Linked DNA regions of Homo sapiens: region 2 is linked to region 1. The links are contacts of gene promoters, found by promoter capture Hi-C in human tissues and cell types (Jung and others, 2019). All regions are on one chromosome and are shown on one strand. Each heading gives the region's core, a stretch centred on a gene start or on the middle of the fragment in contact. The rest is flanking DNA. Distances are from core to core; before and after follow the strand shown. Region 1 holds the start of PIGK (phosphatidylinositol glycan anchor biosynthesis class K). Region 2 has its middle 14 kb from the start of AK5.

Region 1 (4,668 bases), core at 1,265-3,764:
GCCTTGTCTCAGATGAGACTTTGGACTGTAGACTTTTGAGTTAATGCTGAAATGAGTTAAGACTTTGGGGGACTGCTGGTAAGGCATGATTGCTTTTGAAATGTGAGGACAGGAGATTTTGGAGGGGCCAGGGTGGAATGATATGGTTTGGCTGTGTCCCAACCCAAATCTCATCTTGAATTGTAGCTCCCATAATCCCCAAGTGTCAAGGGAGGGACCTGATGGGAAGTAATTTAATTATGGGATCAGTTACCCTCATGTTGTCATGGTAGTGAGTTCTCACGAGCTCTGATGGTTTTATTTATCTATCTATTTATTTATTTTTATTTTATTTCATTTTATTTTTTGAGACAAAGTCTGGCTCTGTTGCCCAGGCTGGAGTACAGTAGCGTGATCTTGGCTCACTGCAACCTCTGCCTCCCAGGTTCAAGCGATTCTCCTGCCTCAGCCTCCCTAGTAGCTGGTATTACAGGCATGTGCCCCCACACTGAGCTAATTTTGAAACATGGGGTTTTGCCATGTTGGCCAGGCTGGTCTTGAATGCCTGACCTCAGATGATCTGCCTGCCTCGGCCTCCCAAAGTGCTAGGATTACAGGTGTGAGCCACTGCACCTGGCCTCTGATGGTTTTATAAAGGGTAGTTCCTCTGCACATGCTCTCTCACCTGCTGCCATGTAAGATGTGCCTTTGCTCCTTCTTCATCTTCTACCATGATTGTGAGGCTTCCCCAGCCATGTGGAACTGTGAGTCCACTAAGCCTTTTTCTTTAGAAATTATGCAGTCTTGGGTATTTCTTCATAGCAGTATGAAAATGGGTTAATACAAGTAAAGTCTCATCAAAGTGTGGGTATGAAGTTACATCTGGTCATGAATTTGAGGCATAATCATTAATCTTGTCAGACATTATCTTATGTACAGGAAGAGGCAAGGGCTAGGATCACCAAACTTACCTTTTGTAAAAATTCAGTGATTCAGGCAAGAGATGTGCAAACCTATTCCCTATCCTGCTTATGGTCTTCAAGGCATTCTTCCACAAGGCTGCTCACAGTCAATGAGTCAGGGGCTTTGTGAAATATTGCTGGCAAAGGAGCAGAATGAGCAAATGGCTTCTTATCTTTGCTACTTTGTTTCATAATCATCAGCATCCAATAGATATCTGTTGAATTAATGAATACATGGAAGATATTCTGGCAGTGTATTTACTTTCTAGGATTCACGTAACGGAAAACCTAAATTTGACTAAATAGCATGAAACCTCTCACAAAGTGCAATAGCAAAAGAAACAAATAAAAGGAAAAGAGAGACAAGAGAATGGGAAAAGCAATAGCATAAAATATGGCAAAGGCTAATGTTACTTATTTATAAATATATTATTCAAATTCATATGCAAAACATAAATATATAAACAAAGAATTTACATCAGAGGACACAGAGATAGTTTAGAAACACAAGAAAGACATCAGATCTTGATAGTAACCAAAGAATTATAAGTATAGTTACCTAGGGGTAACATTTCATACCAAAGAATTTAAAGGAAAAAAAATGGTATGGTTTGGTGTTGTGTATTCTGATAGTGCTGTAAGCTTGTTCATTTTGGAAAGCAACATCATTTATAGTTATTAAAATGTTTTGGAATATTTTGACCCCAAATTCCTAGTTCAGGAAAATTATACAAACAAAATAATTCAACAGATTTAAAAAGCCAAACACACAAAAGATACTCTTTACAATATTATTTTCATAGTAAAACTTAAAAACTTTGCATTGTGCAGCAGAGGGACAATTACTTTGGCTGAGGCATCAATAATGGATGGAATTTTATCTCACCATTAAATGTTAAAATTGTGAGGAAGCAGCGTGGAAACGTTTATGTCATACTAGATGAAATGCATAAATTAAAACTGAACTCACATAATAAAGAGAATGGTGGACCATACATATACACCAGCTGTGTCTCTTCCAGATAGGCTTTAGTTCCATAATTACAGAAGATACTCAAGAAACAAAAACGTAACTAGCTTCCCATGTTAATCCTTTCACCAGGTAGTAGACCCCAAGCCTCTAAATTGCAGCGCCCACCCACATTTTCCATTTATAGTTTATCCAATTAATCATCTTTTTGTGCCAAAACGCTTGTTCTTCCCACCACATCCAGCTTCATATTTTCAAAGAATTGGCAGCACTCGGCAAAATAAATAAATAAATAAATAAATAAATAAATAAAATAAATAAGGGAACAGAGAAATAAGTTTTTAAAGTTTAAGGAGTTACGGGTTTTCCCTCCACTCACCTTTCAATTTTTTTTCTTAAATGTTATACCTATTTTACAACCTCCAAACTGAAAATGCAGTTAAAAATAAAAAGGTCAATATCCTGCGTCTACCTTGTCCCGGACTCTCGAGCTCCACAAAACCGCAGAGTTCTAAAGCCGGACCAGAGGGCCACCTCGAAGAGGCGCGGATGGTGTCGCAAAAACCCGCAGCGCTACTTTACGGCACTGCCTCCGCCCCTTCAGGTGCGGGAAGTCTGAAGCCGGTAAACATGGCCGTCACCGACAGCCTCAGCCGGGCTGCGACTGTCTTGGCAACTGTGTTGCTCTTGTCCTTCGGCAGCGTGGCCGCTAGTCATATCGAGGTAGGAGTCAGGCTCATTTGACCACAGCCGGGAGGCCGGCTGTGAGCCCTCCAGCAGATGTCCGATACACAGTAGCTGAGGGACGCCTCCTGGAGTCAATCAGCCCCTGACCCAGGCTGGGTTTGAGGAGGGTATCACTGGGCACGGGTTAGGACACTGTTGGTCTGTTTCAGCGTTTTAAAACGATGAATTGAAATAATCAAACCCTCGGAGACAGAGGAGGACCTGATCCTTTGCTCCTACATGTGTGCAGTTCTTAGGTGAAATACGAGCAAGAGGCTCGTGAAATGTCAGTGTGCAGCAACTGCTTTCCTACTACTCAACTGCAGCCCTCTGTTTTGATAGGAGTCAGACGGAACTGGAGAGATGAGGGCAATTTTAAGAATCCAGATAATAGAATTTAGTGATAATTAGAACATGGGATAAATATAAGTGTTTATTAAAACTCTCAAGTTTCTGGCTTAGGGGCAACACGTCTGGGTTAAGAAATGGAAGAGAAAAGGGGTGCTTAGTTTTATCCTGGGCTCCTCCAGCTTCCCATTTTTAAACGTGGACACAGGATGTTCTGGTGCTCTATAATGCTTTTACTATTCACCATACTCTGATGATTCCTCAGTCCCGGTCTACAATCTAGATGTCTGGTATCTTTTTCAGGCCTGCATATCCAGCTGACTAAGAATCCGGGATAGTCAGGAGACATTTGAAAATCCGTGTGCAAAGTTTTATCTTCTGCTTATCCTACCTCCTCTTAAAAAGACACTGAAAAACTAAGCACCCCTTTTCTCCTCCATTTCTCAACCAGATGTGCTGCTCCTAAGCTAGAAACCTGAGAGTCTTAATCTCTTTATCCCATATTCTAATTATCACTAAATTTTGTGATCTGAGTTCTTAAAATTGCCCTCACCTCTCCAGTTCCACTGACTTAATTCAGGCTGTGATCACTTCTTGTCTAGACTCTTGCGATTACTTTATCTTGTTTTCCATAGGCCTCCATACTCCCTGAGTTTGGTGCTAGATTCGTCTACACGAAATGTAAGCCTGATCAGGTTATTCTTCTGATGAAATCTTTTAAATATTTATTAATTGCATACAGAATAAAGTCTAAACGTTATGACCTGGTGCTTGCCTACTTTTCCAGTGTTCCATATTGGAACCTCTTCTCCCCACCACCTGGGCACCTTGAGCTTAGACCAGTGGACTCCAAACTTTTTGAATACACACCCTATCAGTTAAAAAAAGATATTGAGCATGAACTTCATATATATTTATGAATTACTGTTAATTTATATATTTGATGTTTATATAGCATAATTTTTAGAGAACATAAATATGAGTAAATAGAAGTTCTGTTTCCCTCCTTTATTCTAACTTTGACTGCTTCATCTTGGATACTATTACTGTTTTTTGTAGTTACATAATTGCTGTGCTTTTTCACATTACAATATTTTATACATTGTGTTTCCTCTGTTCATGTGCTAAGATACAGTAAAGGCATAACCTCTGTAGAACGTTTCCCTATCTCTTACCTTTGCCTTTACTCTTGTAATTTGTACACTTGATACAGCACTCATTTACTATAACCCGTGTATGGTTTGTACTGTTATTCCATCATATCTCACTTAGAGATAGGAGCAACAGTTTCCTAAATGTTTTGCCTTGAGTCGTTGTTTTTTCCTTTCAATCTGTTCTCCAAATTGAAGCCAGAGTAACTTTTAAAAATGCAGTTCCAATCATGTCACCCAGGGACCTTGATGTTGCTCAAAAGATCACCTTAATGTTGCTCTAAACTCTCCACCATGACCCACAAACAAAAACCCTGCATATTTTTTGGGCCCTGACTACACTTCAAATTTTTTCTTTCTCTTTCAAACTTCTAGTTAGGCTAACTTTCTTTCAGTTTCTCAAAACCTTTAAGCTTTTTCTCACATTAGAGCTGTCTCCCCTCTGTCTGGAATTGTATTTCCTCTTTTCTTCATCTTTTGGATTTTAACCCAACAGTCACTTCTTTAGGAAAACTTTCCTGACCAGGTCAGG
Region 2 (5,033 bases), core at 122-2,621, 50 kb before region 1:
GCCCCGGGGGACTGGGAGAGTAGAGTGTTTTAGGGATTATCTCCTCCTCTTTCATGGAGGAAAGAAGGAAACACTCAAATGCTTCCCTTTCTTGAAGCTGAAGGAAGGTAGGCCAAGAGATGCCCTCCTAAAGTTTGTGGACGGGCTGGCAGAAGAAAAGTCTGACATCTCTGCCGGGTGCGGTGGCTCACGCCTGTAATCCCAGGACTTTGGGAGGCCAACGCGGGCGGATCACGAGGTCAGTAGATTGAGACCATCCTGGCTAACACGGTGAAACCCCGTCTCTACTAAAAATACAAAAAATTAGCCGAGTGTAGTGGCGGGCGCCTGTAGTCCCAGCTACTCGGGAGGCTGAGGCAGGAGAATGGCGTGAACCCGGGAGGCGGAGCTTGCAGTGAGCCGAGATAGGCCACTGCAGTCCGGCCTGGGCGAAAGAGCAAGACTCCATCTCAAAAAAAAAAAAGAAAAGAAAAGTCTGACATCTCAAATCCTGGTGGTTGTCTGCGGACCCAGGGCTTGCTGTTCTGCCCTAGGGCTATTGGAGTGAGGGAGAGATCACTGGCAAGAGATGGTATCACTGTAGTAAGCCAGGTGGTCTGAGAGAAGAACTTTCCCTGCAAGCTCACTACTCCCAAGAGATACAGCAGAGAGTCTATGAGATGGGAGGGAGCACAGGCTTGCTGGGGATTGCTGCAGCATGAAAGGAAGGGGCCCTGCATAAAAAGGATGTAGCCTCATGCTAAATAGGTATTCTCCAACTGAGCAGGCCCAGTCTCACAAAGTACCACCAGTGACCATGGAGAGTTTTAGGGATCTGAGTCTGTTGGGTCCCCACTCATCCCATACTGAGACAGTAGGTCAGAAGCTGGATCAATGGTGAAAATCACAGAAAGGGGACAACAACTCTGCCACCACACTGGTGGAAGCAGTCATAAAAGAGCACAGTGGTTACATCCAGGAAAGACTGCATCAATCCAGTAACCCTGGGTAGTCTAGTAAGAATACATTCATCCCTTTCCCTTCCCTGAGATGAGGCAGAGTTAGTTGGGGAGACTGACCCCTAACTAAGCCAGTAGATTCCAGATCATGAATTGTATGAGCTTCAGATCTTGGGTTCTAATAGCTCTAGGTCAAGCAACAGCTAAACAAAGGACATCATCCAGCAGACCAGAGGAGGCAGAGGATCTGGTGTCTGAGAAGTTTTTTCTGTCACATCCTCACCAGGCCACATCTTGCCCTCATCACATGATGATGATTTCAGGAAGGGAGGCAAGGGAAGGCCGCCTAAGAGCTGATATATGTTTATCTAAGACTGAGTACTACCCAAATGGGTATTTAAATGATTATATGACACTAAGCTTTAAGACAATGAATGAGGGGTTCAGGGGAAGTCTAGAATGGTCATAAACAAAATAAAGTATGTATATTGATGTTGTATAGCTGGGTTTTCAAGTCTGGATTTCTGACTCCCTACACATTGAGTAAAGAAAAAATTGGATCACAAAAAGTCTGAATAATTACATTGTTTTAAGAAGCAATGTATTGTAGAAGTAGTGTGATGCAGAAAAACGATCTATGATAGAGCCTATTTTGAAATGAAGTAGAGCAGCTTCATTTCTCAGTTCTGTCACCTATTATGTATGTGGTCTTGGGCACATTGCTTAATCTATCTGCCTCAATTTCTTTATCTTTAGAAAAGATAAAATAATAGCTACCCTGTTGGATTGTATAAGGATTAAAAATAACGTGCACAGAGTTCAAATACAGTTCCTGACACACAAACAATGGCAATTACTATTAGTATGATTACTATATGCTGTGGCTGTGTTACTTTTCTTTTTCTTTTTTCCCCCACCTTTCTCGCAAGTCTTACTTTTTCTATAACAGGGAAGTCAGAATCTCTGGTCCCTGCTTACTATTTGCTTTGTATGAATAAGTTTTGATGAATCTCTTAGCCAATTTTCCTACTATATATTATAGACAGCCTGCATTGCCAAGAACCACACTGAGGTTAAAGTCTGTTTGTTATTGGTATTACTTTGTAGAATCTTTAAGCTAAAATATACTTCCTTAATAAATCATAGGTAAATAAATAAAAATAAAATGTGAAAATAAACTTTAGACATTAATGAAATCCTTGAGACTTGTTTTTTAGACAGTGGAAATGGAGAGATGAGAATTTTTTATTTAATTCTCAAAAGGTTGCCAATTAGATTATTTTTAGCTCCCAGTTCTCCTCCAAACTAGTAGGAGTATTTTGTCCTGAAACATCAAAAAATTATTTTAATTCCTTCTAAAGAGCTGAATAGGTACATGTCTAGATGGAAAAAGTATGGAGAAAACAGGCTATTTGTGAAAAGAATAACAAATAACAAGAATGTATTCCTAAAATAGTATAATTTACCAATTCTATAATCACGTAAATAACAAAGGATACTGAGATTTTGTTTCTGGTAATTTATTTTTCCTATTTATCCATAGCATTTCTCTACACCAAAAAAGATGTTTACTAACATCCATTAAATAAAAAACAGCAAAAACAAACATCATTCAAGCTTCTTAATTCAGGATGACATAATGTACGCAAACCCACACCATCGATATGAAAATAGAGAAGCTGTAAAGCATCCAGATATTTCCTATACCTAGATATCTATCGTTTATTATTTAAATAAAAATATTTCTGTCTGAATTTTCTTAGTTCAGATCTGATCTCCTAATCATGTGTACTCACAATTTCAATACTGCCCCGATGTTTCTGCTGCCTGTGATTACAATGACTCTCTTCTATGTTACAACTATAGCAATCATACTCCCGGATGTTCTGAGGCACCTGCAAATTCAAATGTTCTGTTGTCAGTCCCTCTTCCCCACTCATCTATGAGCACTGAGTGCTTTCTAGCTATAGGCTCTGCCTCACCTTGTCTTTTTGTCATATTTGCTTTTTTAAAAGCAGATGAAAAAAATCAGATGGAGTTCAGAATCAGTTGTTGATTTACATTATCAATATATGAATCATGTAGAAGTCTAATACTCAAATTAGCAATAAACTCAAGTGTCAGCAGAATAATACATCCCACATTTTTCTCTACCTCGCTGATGGTTCCTTTTTTGTTATTTCATTGCTTCCTCTTCATCTCCCTGACTGCTAATTGTGAAAGGCACCAGCACTCAGCCCTTGGACACCTTGTTTTTCTCTGTATGGACTTACTCCCTTTGTGATCTCATCCAGCCTCATGGCTTTATATGCCATCTATATGCCCTTAGTCTTTAGAAATTTATGTCCTCAGCCTAGACATTTACTCAAACTACAGAAACTCTTGTATACAATGCCTACTTGTTAATTCCACTCTAAAGTCTAATTGGCACCTCCAATTTAATATTCCTAAATCAACTTCCTGATCATCCCCTCTTCTCCTAGTCCTTATGAAGTTTTTTCCACCTCTGTTAATGGCAAGTGAATTCTGCCAGTTGCCTAGGCCAGAAGAAGTTTGGGGTTATTCTTGAATCTTTCTTTCATCACTCACATCCTGTTGACTGTAGCTTCAAAACGTATCCAGAATCTAACTTCTCTTCACCATCATCATTACCACCACCTTGATCCAAATACCATCATTTCTCACCTGCATTTTTGCAGTAGCCTCCTGCTGGTCTCCCTGCTTTCACTTTCTGCTGCCTGCCTCTATTCTCAACTCAGCAACTAGAGTGGTGCTGTCAAAAATTAAGTCCAATCCTGTCATTCTTTACTCAAAACCCATCACACATCAGAGAAAAACCCAAAATTATTTTACAGTGGCCAAAAGTGCCCTATGTAACCCACCCTTAAACACACACACACACACACACACACAACTATACTTCTCCACTCCTTTGTTCTAACCTCATGACCTATCTCCTACTATTCCCATCCTTCTCTGCCTTCTTCATTCTGCTTCCCTGTGATTCCCAGGTCCCTCCAGGTATGTTCTTTTCTCAGGGCCTCTCACTTGCTGTTTCTTCTGCCTGGACTGCTCTTCCCTCAAATTACCATGTGGTCTATTCCCTAACCTCCTCATGCCTTTGCTCTAATGTCCTCTTCTCGGTGGTTCCTTCCCTTCCTTGACAACCTTATTTTAAACTGTAAACCTCCTTTCCCTGACTGCCCCAGAACTTCCTATTCCTCTCTCCTGTCTTATTTTTCTATATACTGCTGATCACTACCTAACAAACTATACAGTTTGACAGTTTGTTGTTTATAGTTTCTATTGGATGGCCTTCTCCCAGTAAGAAGCTAAGTTCCAGGCCAGGCATGGTGGCTCATGCCTGTAATCCCAGCACTCTGGAAGGCTGAGGCAGGAGAATTGTTTGAGGCCAGGAGTTAGAAACCAGCCTGGTTAACATAGCAAGATCCTGTTTCTACATCCCACTCATCACCCTTTCTTCTCCATAGATCATTCAGCTTCATGTACAGCCCCTGTTGCCCCAGGTTGGTGTCTCTCCTCTGGGCTGGGTATGGGTGGTATTGCCCATCTTTCTTTGCCCTAGAGCCATGATTCTGCCAGACCAGACCCTTCTCTCTGTGCCAATTTCACAAACCAGGTTCACCGAGACAACTGTCCTGCACCCCTGTGCAGGATTTGGGGATCTTTTTTTATTACTAATTTGTTTGTAATATATATGTCATTGTATTTTAACCAATGTGGAATAGAAACTAGCTGGCCAAAATTTTACTTTGAAAACCTGCAATGAACTAAAGTCCACTTCATTATTTTTTATTCTTAGAAAAATCTCTTTTTAATTTTTGGATAAGAAGAAGCAGTGTATACTAGTTAAGAAGGCAGACTCTAGAGTCTGATGGATGGGATCTAAATCCCGGCTCTGCCCTTTATAGCAAGTCACGTATGCTCTTTGGCAAGTGACTCAAGCTCTCAATACCTTAATTTCCTCATCTGAACAATGCGGATAAAATTAGTACTACTGTAGTGAGTTGTTGTGAGTATTCAATGAGTTAATACATGCAAAGCTTGAATTGGTGTTCATTAAATGTTAGCTGT

What was found. Contacts are between HindIII fragments. The study calls those that stand out against the background at their distance.
Region 2: a fragment that was not itself captured here is called in contact with the fragment with the promoter of PIGK in region 1 in 1 of the 25 tissues and cell types used here (dorsolateral prefrontal cortex).

The regions. Positions count from the first base shown.
Region 1 is chr1:77,217,276-77,221,943 of GRCh38, reverse strand. It overlaps PIGK (phosphatidylinositol glycan anchor biosynthesis class K), which reads left to right and starts at 2,514. Exons shown (of 11, transcript NM_005482.3): 1 at 2,514-2,634. The coding sequence starts at 2,542. LOC105378808 (a long non-coding RNA gene) reads right to left here and starts at 2,424. Exons shown (of 3, transcript XR_001738109.2): 1 at 2,291-2,424; 2 at 951-1,156. RefSeq lists an enhancer at 2,721-2,830. The HindIII fragment of the contact is 8,221 bases long and covers 1-4,668 here.
Region 2 is chr1:77,265,797-77,270,829 of GRCh38, reverse strand. No RefSeq gene overlaps it. Among named protein-coding and RNA genes, the nearest start is that of AK5, 14 kb to the left of the region's middle. The HindIII fragment of the contact is 4,816 bases long and covers 1-3,779 here.